2 separate regions of the Homo sapiens genome follow, and region 1 is linked to region 2. The links are contacts of gene promoters, found by promoter capture Hi-C in human tissues and cell types (Jung and others, 2019). All regions are on one chromosome and are shown on one strand. The core of a region is centred on a gene start or on the middle of the fragment in contact, and the rest is flanking DNA. Distances in the headings are between cores, read along the strand shown. Region 1 overlaps UTP15 (UTP15 small subunit processome component). Region 2 holds the start of GFM2 (GTP dependent ribosome recycling factor mitochondrial 2).

What was found. The method cuts DNA at HindIII sites, captures the fragments that hold promoters and counts their contacts. A contact is called where the count stands out against the background at its distance.
Region 1: a fragment that was not itself captured here is called in contact with the fragment with the promoter of GFM2 in region 2 in 2 of the 25 tissues and cell types used here (hippocampus and spleen).

What each region holds. Positions count from the first base shown.
Region 1 is chr5:73,568,529-73,575,656 of GRCh38, reverse strand. UTP15 (UTP15 small subunit processome component) reads right to left here. Exons shown (of 13, transcript NM_032175.4): 4 at 7,053-7,128; 5 at 5,982-6,160; 6 at 4,946-5,071; 7 at 3,033-3,168. Among named protein-coding and RNA genes, the nearest start is that of UTP15, 6.4 kb to the right of the region's middle. The HindIII fragment of the contact is 7,294 bases long and covers 1,943-7,128 here.
Region 2 is chr5:74,764,990-74,771,998 of GRCh38, reverse strand. GFM2 (GTP dependent ribosome recycling factor mitochondrial 2) reads left to right here and starts at 4,882. Exons shown (of 21, transcript NM_032380.5): 1 at 4,882-5,061. NSA2 (NSA2 ribosome biogenesis factor) reads right to left here and starts at 4,750. Exons shown (of 6, transcript NM_014886.6): 1 at 4,636-4,750; 2 at 2,881-3,068; 3 at 2,635-2,785; 4 at 1,189-1,368. The coding sequence starts at 4,638. RefSeq lists an enhancer at 4,730-5,169. The HindIII fragment of the contact is 4,613 bases long and covers 3,679-7,009 here.

The DNA.
Region 1 (7,128 bases), core at 4,340-6,839, 1.2 Mb after region 2:
GGGAGGCCAAGGACAGCAGATTGTTTGAGCCCAGGAGTTCAAGACCAGCCTGGGCAACTTGAAGAAACCCTGTCTCTAAAAAAATAAATTAAAAAAAAAAAAAGAAAGAAAGAAAGTACACATGAAGCCAAAGATCAGGGATTCTCAACCTCAGAATTACTGTCATTTTGGGGCACAGAATTCTTTTTTGTGGGGGTTGTTCTGTGCATTGTAGGATGTTTAGCAGCCTTCCTGGCCTCTATCCCCTATATGGTAAGTACCATGAGTTGTGATAAAAAACAATACTTTCTCAAGATATTGTCAAACGTTCCTTGAGGAACAAAAATCACTCTTGGTTGAAACCACCACAAATAGAGCCAATTTACACTTAGCTTTTAGGAACATACCTAAGAATCAAGTCCCAAATTGCCGAGTAACATGATTTCAGTAACATGTGTAAACTTGCCATGTATTTACATAAAAAATTCCTTTGTATTAAAAATATTTTCTAGCTTTTAAAATATGTACAGTCAATCCTTCTTATGGCAGGTTCCACATCTGCAGATTCAACCAACCATGGATTGAAAATATCCATAAATATATAAACAATACAGAATTTTAAAATACAGTGTAACAACTATTTACATAGCATTTGCATTGTATTAGGTATTACAAATAAGCAAGCCATGATTTAAAGTATACAGTGGATGTGTGTAGGTTATATGCAAATATGCCATTTTAAATAAGGGACTTGGGCATCCACAACCAATTCTCCTCAGTTACCAAGAGATGACTGTATACTTTTTAATTAACATGCTGAAAACTAAAGTTTTTCATAAGAGCAGAAAAAAATGAAAATATGGAAATAAAATAATAAAAAATAGATCATGTAAGCCGGGCACGGTGGCTCACGCCAGTAATCCAGCACTTTGGGAGGCTGAGGTGGGAGGATCTGTTGAACTCAGGAGTTTGAGACCAGCCTCGGCAACATGGCAAAACCCCATCTCAACAAAAATACAAAAATGAGTCAGGTACAGTGGCGCGTGCCGGTGGTCCCAGCTACTGAGGAAGCTGAGGCGAGGGGATCGCTCGAAGCCAGGAGGTGGAGGTTGCAGTCAGCCAAGATCATGCCACTGCCCTCCAGCCTGGGCGACAGAGCAAAACCCTGTCTCAAAAAAAAAAAAAATTAATAATAAATCATGTAAATTCTAGAACTGTGCCATACTTCTAGCTGCACATGGCTACTGACCACTTGAAATGTGGCTAGTGAAAATGAGAAACTAAATTTTTTATTTTATCTAATTTTAATTTAAAAACTGAGACAGTAATTTTTATAAAATATTATCTTTTTTTTTTTAGAGACAGGGTATCACTGTAACCCAGGATAGAGTACAGTGGTACTATCACAGCTCACTGCAACCTCAAACTCCGGCTTAAGTGCTTCTCCTGCCTCAGCCTCCCTAGTAGCTATGATTAAAGGTGTGTACCACTGTGGCCAGCTAATTTTTTTAATTTTTTGTAGAGATGGGGTCTCACTATATTCCCTAGGCTGGTCTCAAACTCCTGGCCTCAAGTGATCCTCCCACCTCAGCCTCCCAAAGCACTGGGATTACAGGTGTAAGCCACTGTACCAACCTAAAATATGATTATTGTATCATAGTGCACATGTTTAGATGCTTAATTTATTTCTAGTATCTTAATAATTTTGACATAGATTACATACTGAAATTATATTTTATATGTAATATATATTTTATTTTTACATTAGATATTAGGCTAAATAAAATGTGCTATCTAACTTTTAGGTCAGGCGTGGTGGCTCATGCCTGTAATCCCAGCACTTTGGGAGGCCAAGGTGAGTGGATCACCTGAAGTCAGAAGTTCCAGACCAGCCTGGCCATCACGGCGAAACTCTGTCTCTACTAAAAATACAAAAATTAGCCGGGCAAGGTGGCAAGCGCCTATAATCCCAGCCACTCAGGAAGCTGAGGCAGAATCGCTTGAACCCGGGAAGCAGAGGTTGCAGTGAGCTGAGATCCCACCACTGCACTCCAGCCTGGGCAACAGAGCGAGATGTCATCTCAAAAAAAAAAAAAAAATTAATTTATCTAATTTTTAAAAAACTTTTCAGGCCAGGCACAGTGGCTCACACCTGTAATCCCAGCACTTTGGGAGGGCGTGGTGGGCAGACCACACGAGGCCAGAAGTTCGAGACCAGTCTGGGCAATATGGCGAAACCCCGTCTCTACTAAAAATACAAAAATTAGCCAGGCATGGTGCTGCACACCTGTAATCCCAGCTACTTGGGAGGCTGGGTCACGAGAATCGCTTGAACCTGGGAGACAGAGGTTGCAGTAAGCCCAGATTGTGCCACTGCACACCAGCCTGGGCAACAGAACAAGACTCTGTCTCAAAAAAAAAAAAAAAAACTTCAAAATATATGAATGTACAATAATGATTTTAAAAGATGGTTTATAGAATAACATTATTTGAAAGATTATCATTCAAATGGTTCAATAATGTTGTTTAAGTATACAAGTTAAAACAAATTGTGTCAAAGGAGAAAATAAGTAGCTATGGGTGGCCGGGTGTGGTGGCTCACGCCTGTAATCCCAGCACTTTGGGAGGCTGAGGTGGGCGGATCACGAGGTCAGGAGTTCAAGACCTGCCTGACCAACATGGTGAAACTCCGTCTCTACTAAAAATAAAAAACTTAGCCGGGCATTGTGGCGCGTGCCTGTTATCCCAGCTACTCAGGAGGCTGAGGCAGGAGAACCACTTGAACCTGGGAGGCGGAGGTTGCAGCGAGCCGAGATTGCACCACTGCACTCCAGCCTAGGTGACAGAGTGAGACTCTGTCTCAAAAAAAAAGAAAAGAAAAGAAGTAGCTATATGTAAACAAAAGGTCAAAACTATTTTCAACTCAACAGGTTTTTTTCTCCTGGAAATCATTATCTGTATACTTATCACAAATATTGCTGAAATAACTCATTTCCTCAAGCAGTAAACAGGTGTACACTAATAATAATATACAAAAAAATTAAAATGCCAACCTATCCAGTGAGCCAGAGAGTAACCTCTGTCCAGAGCTGCTTAGACATAAACATGTCACGGTTTTGTGATGATTTTTCAAAGATACTAGCAATTGTCCTCCTTTTAACATGTCCCAGACTTTAACATAACGACCTCCTATAAAAAGAAATCATCGTTAGTTGGATATTCTGCCCACAGATTCAACATATTAAAGATCTGAAAAGCATTCTTCTCTGGACACTCCACAAAGCATGGAGGCTGAGTGAGGGAGTCCAGGCCAGGCTGCCTGGTAAAATCCTGGATGCACCACTTCCTGGGTCATTGGTAATAACAGTTCCTACCTCACAGAACTGTTATGACCATTAAATAATATTTGTGAAGTGTACATAAATTCCAGCAAAATAAATGTATAACTGAAAGAGTCCATTTTAAGAAAATTATAATAAAATCATTTTTTAAAAGAAATTCTATATAGCAGTGGAAGTGAATAATGTAGATCTGCAGCAAAATATCAAGCAAAAAAGTCTAATATGGAAAGACAGAAAAAGGGATGGAAGGGGAGACTGAAATCTTGACTGGGGAACAGGAGTTGGAACCCAACTCACAGTTCCCACCTCTCCACTCCTATGTGGCACCTCACAAGAGGGATCACAGTTGAAATCACTGATCTAGTCCAACCCTCTCATTTTCAAGGTCTAGAGACCTTAAGGGATTGCCCGAGGTCACAATTAGCTAGTGACACACAGTGGAGATCAGCACACAGCTTTCTATTCTCCCTGTTCAACATGATATTTTTTCCATTTGTCAGAATAACAGCAAGAAAAGTAGACACATCTGACATTATCAACTTTTTTCTTTTTTTAATTAAAGATGGAGTCTTAGAGTCTTGCTATGTTGCCCAGGCTGGTCTCAAACTCCTGGACTCAAGCTATCCGCCTGCCTCAGCCTCCCAAAGTGCTAGGATTACAGGCGTGAGCAACCACATCCCGCCTCAACTTATTTTTAAATCAAATAGGTACTGGGGAAAAGAATATAAAACAGAGTAATTTCTAGCCAGATTTTAGAATTAAGAAAAAAAAAAAAAGGAGGTACACACAGCAATATATATGTTGTCAAGTATACATACTACCTATACATTCTTCTAATATGAACACATTTTTACTTTATTTACAAATGAAAAAAGCCAATTTACTTCTTCCACTGTAATTATGAAAATGCAATATGTGCAAAATGAGAAAAACATCTCAGTCCCAACTTGTTGAAAAATGTACCAAGGCCCCTTTTGAGGCCACATTATCTCCTTTCTCTAGTACTAGCAGCTATTTGCTGGGTAGTGGCATTTCAATCAAGAGAGTCACAGAAAAAGAGACAAGCCTACTAGATCTCAAATAACTGATTTTCAAAAGCTGCTGCAGATCTCTTAGGTAGGAGTAAAAGGAGTATGAGCTAAATTTCTGGGGTTAAATAAGATGGCACAGGGCTAAATACATAAGAGCTAAATTTCTGGGGTTAAATAAGATGGCACAGGGCTAAATTTCTGGGGTTAAATAAGATGGCACAGGGCTAAATAAATAAGATGGCACAGGGCTAAATACACAGAGCTCTCGAGTTCTGTGATTTCAGATCTGCCACTTACCACTTTGCCTTGAAAAATAAGTTAAAACTTTTATTTCATTGCTGTAAAGTAGGGAAAAAGCTAACTACCTTGTAGCATCATCTAGGGCATTAGAGTTCATATGTAACAGCACAGTGCCTGGCTCACATTAGGTACACAATAAATGATAACTGCTTGCCAGTCCTACCTATCAACTGTTTGAACAAAGACTTAGATATGCAATTCAAATGCACACTGATAAATTACAAAGAGCAACTGATTTTAAACAAACGTGATTCAAAACCAACAATATTGGTGAAAGCTATTTTTAAGAAGTACCTGCTGACACCAGAAGACCTCCAGAGGGGAAAAGTAGGACACTCTCCACTGGCTGCCCATGCTCAACGGAGAGAACACTCTCACTCGTTCGTGCATCAAACATCTTCACAGTATGATCATATGATCCTAAAATGTCAATTTTTGAATTTTTAGTTTGACTGTTTAAAACAACAAAAACTGTGTGTATCCAGATATAAATTTTAAAAGGAAAAAAAGCTTAGATGGAGTTTTAAAAAGACATATATGTATATTCATGAAGACACAGGACCTCCAAACCATCTACTACTGATCGTGTCTGAAGAAGCACTACATAATACTATACAGAATCTAACTTGCTCTGATCTTAAAATATTTCTTTCTTTGGACTACTGTCACTACTGAATCATCTGGAAATCTTTGTAAAGGCACCCACAAAGGCTAAACTGCACTCTTTGTTTCTTGGCTGCTTGAGGCAGGGTACTATACATTACAGTTCTGAGAGTCTATTATGTTTTCAAGACAGCCTGATTTTTCCAAACACATTTGGAAGACATGAACAATCAACAAAAGAAGAATAAGAAAATAAAAAACAATTGGAAGCCAGGCATGGTGGCTCACACTTGTAATCCCAGTCCTCCGGGAGGAAATTGAGGTAGGTGGATCACTTGAGCCCAGGAGTTCGAGACCAGCCTGGGCAACATGGCAAAACCGTCTCTACAAAAAAATACACAAAGTAGCTGGACGTGGTGGTGGGCACCTGTAGTCCCAGCTACTTGGGAGGCTTATGTGGGAGGATCACTTGAGCCCAGGAGGTAGCAGATGCAGTGAGCTATGGTCACATCACTGCACTCCAGCCTGGGCAACAGAGTGAGACCCTGTCTGAAAATAAATGCAAACATACATACATAAAAATTAATTTAAAAACTGAAGAATTAATCAGAAACATATTCCTTTATAAAAAAAATTTAAACCCCTCCATCCCAAAAGAGTCCCATAGCAACATTAAAGTACATCCCCGTGAGATTATTTGCTTCAGGAGGGAATAGAGTTCACCAACCTGTTATAAAGAGATCCGGATTAAGTTTGCTAGCACATCCACACCTCACATAATCAGAGTGTTCTTTAAATGTCAAAATTTCTTTGGAGTTTGGAATATCCCATAATTTAACTGTATAATCATCAGCCCCAGAGACCACGTGATATTTGTCAGCTGTAAAATCTACTGTATGAACTGCTCTGAAAGATTGAAGGTCAGTATATTAAAAAGCAAGAAAATTATTTTTCTGATACCTTCTAACATAAAATGCTCCTTTTTCTCAGATTAAAAAAAAAGCAGCTGAGTTTCAGGGAGTCTTCATAGGGGGAAATCATGAAAGAAAGAGAAAACTTACAAGTGTTTGCCCCCAAACCAATTAAGAAGTGTAAATACTCCTATATTGTAAAGTTAAAAAAAATTAAAGGATAGCCTTAAAATTATATTTTCTAGTATATAAACAATTCCACTTAGCTGCTGAATATGGAAGCAAAGGCACTTTAATTTTTAAAATTTCAAAAAGTTCTTTAAAAAACTCTAAAGAGATTTACCACTAAATAGAATCATGTTACATAAATTTCTGTTAAATTTTAACAAATTTCAGCACGGACATTGGCAATCCTGAAAACAAAGTTATAATATAAAATTGTGATGGCCACTTAATTTATTAAGGGGCAAAACACTATAAATTCAAGAAGAAAATCCACCTTCCTACTTGACTTCAACATAAGAGCCTCTAAGACAGTACAGGCCTATAGAGCTGTCATTACCAGCTGTAAGGTTGTCTTCAGGTCAGTAATTCATAATCTCAGCTGGGCCACAGACCCCACTAAAGTTAACCAAAAGCTACAGAGTAGCTCCCTAGATAAACGTGTATTTCCTAAAATATCACATACAATTCTAGGGAATTCATAAGCCCCATGAAACTGGACCACGGAACCCAAGTTAAGCACTCTTAGAACAATCAGGAAATATAGTACCTATAGGCAAATAATCTCCATAAAACTGATCTCTATCTTTTTAACCAAAGTCCAGAGAAAAAAAGAGCTTACAACAAAATAAAACCAGAACACACAGAAACCAACTGTCTCTTACTTTGTATGGCCTTCAAACTGCCTGAGGGGAGCCCTCCCACTTATATCAAAAAGTTGAACTCCACCATCTTCACTGC
Region 2 (7,009 bases), core at 3,633-6,132:
ATATCTTCAACTATGTTTCTCCCCAGGGGTGGGGAAGTTTGGGGTCACATTACTATTGCTGCCTTCAACAGAAATTAAGCTATATTAAATTATCTTCCTTTTTTCAAAGATTTTCTTTTTCTTTTTTTCTTTTTTTTTTTTTTTTGAGACAGAATCTTGCTCTGTCCCCCAGGCTGGAGTGCAGTGGCATGATCTCCACTCACTGCAAGCTCTGCCTCCCAGATTCACGCCATTCTCCTGCCTCAGCCTCCCAGGCAGCTGGGACTACAGGCGCCCGCCACCATGCCCGGCTAATTTCTTGTATTTTTTTTTTTTAGTAGAGATGGGGTTTCACAGTGTTAGCCAGGATGGTCTTGATCACCTGACCTCGTGATCTGCCTGCATCGGCCTCCCAAAGTGCTGGGATTACAGGCGTGAGCCACCGCGCCCGGCTTTTCAATGATTTTCAAAAGCATTTAGATACTTTCCTTATCAAACTGGAATTGACTCTTATAAAACAGTCCTACTCAAGTTTTCGAACTGCTGTCAAAGACAAGAAGTGTTTTGAGACCTAGACAATATCAGGCATATTGTAGATCACTAGTTTAATGAGGAAAATATGACTGTGGAAAATGAAGATTCTAATATGTCATGTTTAAAAGTCAGAATTCACTGACAATGTCTTATGATACTACTTTTTCAAATCTCTCACGAAGCTGAAAAGATTTTTTTTTTTTTTGAGACGGATTTTTGCTCTTCTTGCCCAGGCTGGAGTGCAATGGCGTGATCTCAGCTCACTGCAACCTCCGCCTCCCAGGTTCAAGCGATTCTCCTGCCTCAGCCTCCCTAGTAGCTGGGATTACAGGCGCCCGCCACCACGCCCAGCTTATTTTTTGTATTTTTTAGTACAGATAGGGTTTCACTACATTGGCCAGGCTGGTCTTGAACTCCTAACTTCAGGTGATCCACCCACCTCAACCTCCCAAAGTGCTGGGATTACAGGTGTGAGCCACCGCACTGGGCTAAAGATTTTTGACTAGTGGAAAAAGTACTAAATAACTTCTGTCAATAAAATAACAAAAATTGCATAAAAATATCTTTCAACCTGTTCCACATCAATTTAAAGAATTTCAGGAAATGATAATGTTCTTTATCCGATTTAATAAAGTCAACTAACATTTCGGTCATTACACTCTTCCAAGGACTTACCATTGGCCTGATGAATCTTTCATATTTAGGTGGTTTTCTTGTAAAGCCATCTCCAACAAAGCACACTTTAGTAACCATTCTCTTCCATGCCTTCTTCTTTCTCTTTCCTGTTCGAATAACTTTTAATACTTCTGTTTCTCCCTGGGCACGTACTTTAGGCAGAGGGACTTCCCATTTTCCCTAAAAATATGCCACAGTTAAAAGTTTATATTGTTATTAAAGGACAATGAGAATAAGTCAAATATGTTTTAGTTGTACAAAGTAATAGATCTATTTTTTTTGCTTGACCATCAACACATTTTTGGCTCAACCGTCTTCTAGAGGTCTGTATTGTCTCATAAGCTGCAAATTAAACAGAACAAGTTTATATATCATGGGTATGTTAAATAAATGGTTGGCTTAAGCTAAAAATCTTAATGCTGTGTTATGGGTGAGAAAATACCACCTGTAATGTGGTGGTTTTTTTTTTTTTTTTTTTTAGATGGAGTCTCGCTCTGTTGCTCAGGCTGGAGTGCAGTGGTACAATCTTGGCTCACTGTGCAGCCTCCGCCTCCTGGGTACAAGCAATTCTCCTGTCTTAGCCTCCCGAGTAGCTGGGACTACAGACACACACCACCACACCCAGCTAATTTTTGTATTTTTAGTAGAGGTGGGGTTTCACCACATTGGTCAGGCTGGTCTTGAACTCCTGACCTCAGGTGATCCACCTGCCTTGGCTTCCCAAAGTGCTGGGATTACAGGCGTGAGTCACGGTGCCCAGCCGATAGTGACTTCTATAAGCAGTATATGTGTTTACTAATGTTTAATAGCATAATACTGGAAGAGTGTTTCCACCTCTTAATATGTCTCTGTATTTCTTCCCGAGATGGATCTGTAGATCACTAGCAAGACAAAATCCTCACCAGATGTTTTATGCCTCCCTTGAGTGCAAATTCTATGAAAAAACTGAAATAGTGTAAGGCAGTAAAAATAATTCTTTAAATATAAATACTGCATATTCTTTTATCTGGATTTCTGCTAATCTATTTACAGGTGTTTTAAAAAGCCACATTTTTTGTGACAACTCAGGGAGTTTTCCACCATTCTACTTTTTAACCAAGTTTGGCACTACAGGGCAGCACAAATAAGAAGCATTTGTATTTTTCTTTATGACTGCATAGCACTGTGGGTTTTCAAACAGGAAGACAAATATTGAATTTGAAATTCACTCCTTACCAGCTTTTTAATTTCATATGGCATTCTAATAAATTTTTTTTATAACTTAAATTTTAAAACCTTATGATGAGAAAGCAAGTTTTTTATTAAATTTACAAAGACTTCAACATCTAAATAATGGGAATAATAGCTGTACTTCATGTTTGAAATTAAACCGAGAAACAAGAACCTCAAATTTGAATTTAAGTAATTCTCCTAAACAAAACAAAGACTTCAATTGTTATTGCTTACCGCCTTCTCTTTTCTTTTCTGTTTAATCATATTGGAAAGTACTTTAGCTCGAGATTGTCCCTCTCTGTCCAGCAGATAGGCAGGTACTGCTCCCTGTGGTGTCTTTTCATCATTCTTTTGTTTGGTGTTTCTCTTTTCATGCATCTTGATACTACCAAGAAGGAAAAAAGATTCAAGATTATCTGTTTTAATAATGATTACTCAAAAGATGTTAACTTGTTATGACAAATAAATGAGACCACTTACGTCTTTTTCATTTGTATTTTCTCAGCATGACGCTGTTTATGGTAAAGCTTAGCCTTCAGACCAATCATTTTCTTTGCCTTCTTTGAACGTTCATGAGCCTCTCGACTTTCCTTCTTTCTCTTTTTCTCATGGTAATCCAAACGGTATCCATAGCGTTTACGGTGTAATTCAATATATTCATTCTGTGGCTATAATGATGGAAGAAATATTATTTTAATTTTTTAAAGTACTGACAATTATTCTAAAATGCTTTCTTTTACACAGCACAAAGACCCTGTTTCATCCAAATGTTCACTTACTTAAATGATTCTTGCACCATTAAGTTTATTCACATGATGTAAGTTAAATTTTGGTCTTGAATGATATGAGGCATCAGGGCTTACATCTCTAATAATCTCATTAGGGAATGGTCCAAAATCTACTGGACCACAAAAGGGATGAACTGATTACAGTATCTTTTTTCCTTGACATAATTTGCTTTTTTAATAACACCTTCATTTCACATTTAAAAAATTTAAGTCAGTTTTATTGAAGCATAATTTACACACAGTAAAACCTGTCCTTTTTAGGTATACAGTTCTAAGTTTTTCCTAACTACACAGTTCTGTAACCACCACAATCAAAATACAAAGAATTTCCATTTCCCCCTAAAATTCCCTATGTAACTTTTAAGTCAATCCTCTTTCCCAACCCTCAGTTTGATACCTATCCCTACAGTTTTGCCTTTCCCAGAATGAAACAGGGATCAACAGTAGTACATAGCCTTTTGAATCTGGTTTCTTGCTTTTGGGATTCACCCAATTTGCTGCAGGTATAGGAACTTCAATCCTTTTTATTGTTGAGTAGTATGCTATTGTATGGATACACCACTGTTTACCCGCTGACCAGATGATAGGTATCAGGGTTGTTCCCAGTTTTGGGTGATTACGAATAAATCTGCAATAAACAACTGCATGCAAGTCTTCATGTGGACGTGTGTTTACTGCCAGACCGTTTTCCAAAAGTGCATTATTTTTCTTTTCACCAGCAATGTATGGGATGCTTTTTGCATTTTAGACACGTTTTAAACACGCGGCCAGGCGTGAGTCTATTCGTATTTTAAGGCTGCAAAAATAAAAATGATACAAAGCCAAGTCCAGCACAGAGAGCAATGTTAAGTAACAACCAACAAGGTGTGCTGCTACCAACTGCTATCACATAAACTTTGCAGCAATCACATGAAGGGTGTATGGAATGCCATTTTGCAAAGAAACGCAGATTATAGAGACGTAACACAAAGAGAAAGGACCTGGCAGTTAGATCTGGGCCGTTAAGCCCGGCTTCGCAATTCATTAGCTGTCTGGTCTTTGGCAAGGACGCCTTCAGTTTCCTCAGCAGTAAAATGAAGGGGGCGGGACTGACATCTAAGACTGTACAAGGGACAACCATATTCCCATTAGGCTCTGGGGCTGATAACCACGCTTGTGGTGAAATCAGGAATTTTTAGGACTCTTAGCGGTGGATCAAAAAGAAAAAAGAAAACAGGACAGAGTAAAATCTTGCTCCAAAGCTTGTGTTCTGGCAAATACCGTCTGTGTCTCGAATGTGAAGTTGTTTCCACTCCTCAGAGCCCACCCCACGGGTCTACCATCCTTTTCTCTTGGCAGTTCTCATTTCCGCCTACCACCGCTCACCCCCTACCCCAGCGCCCCAGAGTCCTCAGGTCCCACTAACTCAGACGCTGTGTGTCGCGAGCGTCCGAGGCATCCTCCTTACCATGGTGACGGCCGCAGAGCCGCCAGGAGCAGCCGCTGGAGTGCGAAAACGCTCTCAATTTTCGGGTCTCAAAGACCCACAAGCCCACACCACGCAGGCCGGGACAGGAAAGAGTCACCCTTTAAAACGGCCGAGTGAAGAGCAAGAACCACGCAGCGGTTCCGAGCCTCTGTTTTCCGCTTTTAGCTAGGAGGACGGAAGTTGCTGGCAGGCGGCATTTGGCCGGTACACCGCCGGAAGTGTGGAGGTGTGGCTGCCCGAGGCGGTAGAGCGGAGAAAGCCTATTTTCTTTTCGTTTAGATACATTGCCTTTTGCCTAGGCTGGCGTCGAGACTTGAGGCCGTTGCAGACTTTGGCGCGGCTCGCGCCTCCTGCTTCAAGAGCCCAGCGGTGAGAGCTGGCCTGCGGCACGCGGCCTAATGCCAGGTGAGTACTGCTCCGAGCTGTGAGACATCGCGCGCCTGTGACCCTGTCACAGCGCTGGGTACCGCTGACCTTTCAGGCTGCGACGGACACAGCCAGCCACGGAAGAGGACAACAGGGCCTCCGGACTCCCCTCGGTGTTCGCTCAGTATGGAAGTTTTTCTCTATCATTCGGCGAAGTCGACTCATCTTTGTTCCGGTCACTCTGTGTAATGTGTGCATGATTGTGAAGGATACTGAGGAATGAAAACTTAGTGTACAGAAAAATGGAACTACTGGGGCTTTGCAGCTGTTAGAAAAGAAGAAGATAACATTCTGGTTTTTTGGAGGTACAGGACTGATTCCAGAAATTTCTGAGGCATTTTGGTGCACCGAATCAAATGCTGAGTGGACTTGTATTTAGTGGCCCCCTAGTGTCAAGAAGTAATTAACTACCAGAAAGTACGTCTACTTAAATACACTATCAGGTTTACCCTTTTACTGCACAGTTGCAGAAGTTCCCTTAATTACTTCACAGCTTGCAGCGTGATTCAGTTGATGAACAAAAAGAACTGTACCAAAAGAATACTTTCATTAATTCTTAGTGCTTGTATTTGAGGCAGTATTTTGTTTTTGTTTTTGTTTTTATGGGTATTTTGAGACGGCATCTCGCCCAGTCGCCCAGGCTGGAGTGCAGGGGCACGAGCTCGGCTCACCGCAGCCTCGACCTCCCGGGATCAAGCGATCCTCCGACCTCAGCCTCAAAAGTAGCGAGCTACAGGCTCGCGCCACGAAGCCTGGCTGATTTTTGTAGTTTTTGTAGAGATGAGGTTTCACCGTGTTGCCCAGGCTGGTCTCGAACTCCCGGGTACGAGCGATCCACCCGCCTCGGCCTCCCAAAGTGTTGGGATTACAGGCTTGAGCCACAGCGCCCGGCTTTGAGGCAGTTTTTGTTTTGTTTTGAGACGGAGTTTCAATCTTGTCGCACAGGCTGGAGTGCAAATGCGCCATCTCGTCTCACTGCAACCTCTGCCTCCCGGGTTCAAGCGATTCTCCAGGTTCAGCCTCCCAAGTAGCTGGAATTATAGGCGCTCGCCACCACACCCAGCTAATATTTTTGTATTTTTAGTAGAGATGGGGTTTCACCATGTTGGTCGGGCTGGTTTCGAACTCCTGACTTCAGGTGATCCACCTGCCTCGGCCTCCCAAAGTGCTGGAATTACAGGCGTGAGCCACCGAGCCCCGCCTTTGAAGCAGTTTTTTAAGGCTCCATTTTCTAAGGTGATCTCATCATTCTCTTTAAAACCAGAAATAGTAACTAGCATTTGTATATTTTAGGTACAGTACGTTATATAATCTCTTTGCCTTTAATGCGCCCCTCCCCGCCGTCCCTCAATCCCCCGAATTTCCTCCCTCATCTACTTCAGGTCTTTGCTTAAATGTCACTGTTTGAATGAGGCCTTCCTTGATCTCTTTACTTACAGTTCTAACTGTCCCAATTCCTCCTTCCTGCTTCATTCTTCTCTACAGCACCCTATCATCATGGGAGAGACTATGTATTGTATTCGTTACTTTTGTTTGTTGTCTGTATCCCCTGACTACGGTAGAGGCAGTATGAGGGCAGAGATTGTTGTCTTTTGTTCACTGCATTAACGCTGATATCTAGAAAGCAGTGGGTAGGCAGACACACAGTAAATTCTTGTTGAATAAATGGGAACGAATAGGCTTGGGCGGGGGAGGGCTGGGTTGTGCAAATTATCTTTTTATTGACAACCACTGAGTTAAAGAAGAGGAAAATGTCTATTACAGTCACAACTGTGGAGAGACTATGAGGCCCTGAACTTTGGCGTTACCAATGAAAAGGGAATGGATTCAAGGCCAGGCATGGTGGCTCACGCCTGTAATCCCAGCACTTTGGGAGGCCGAGGTGGGTAGATCACTTGAGGTCAGGAGTTCACGACCAGTCTGGCTA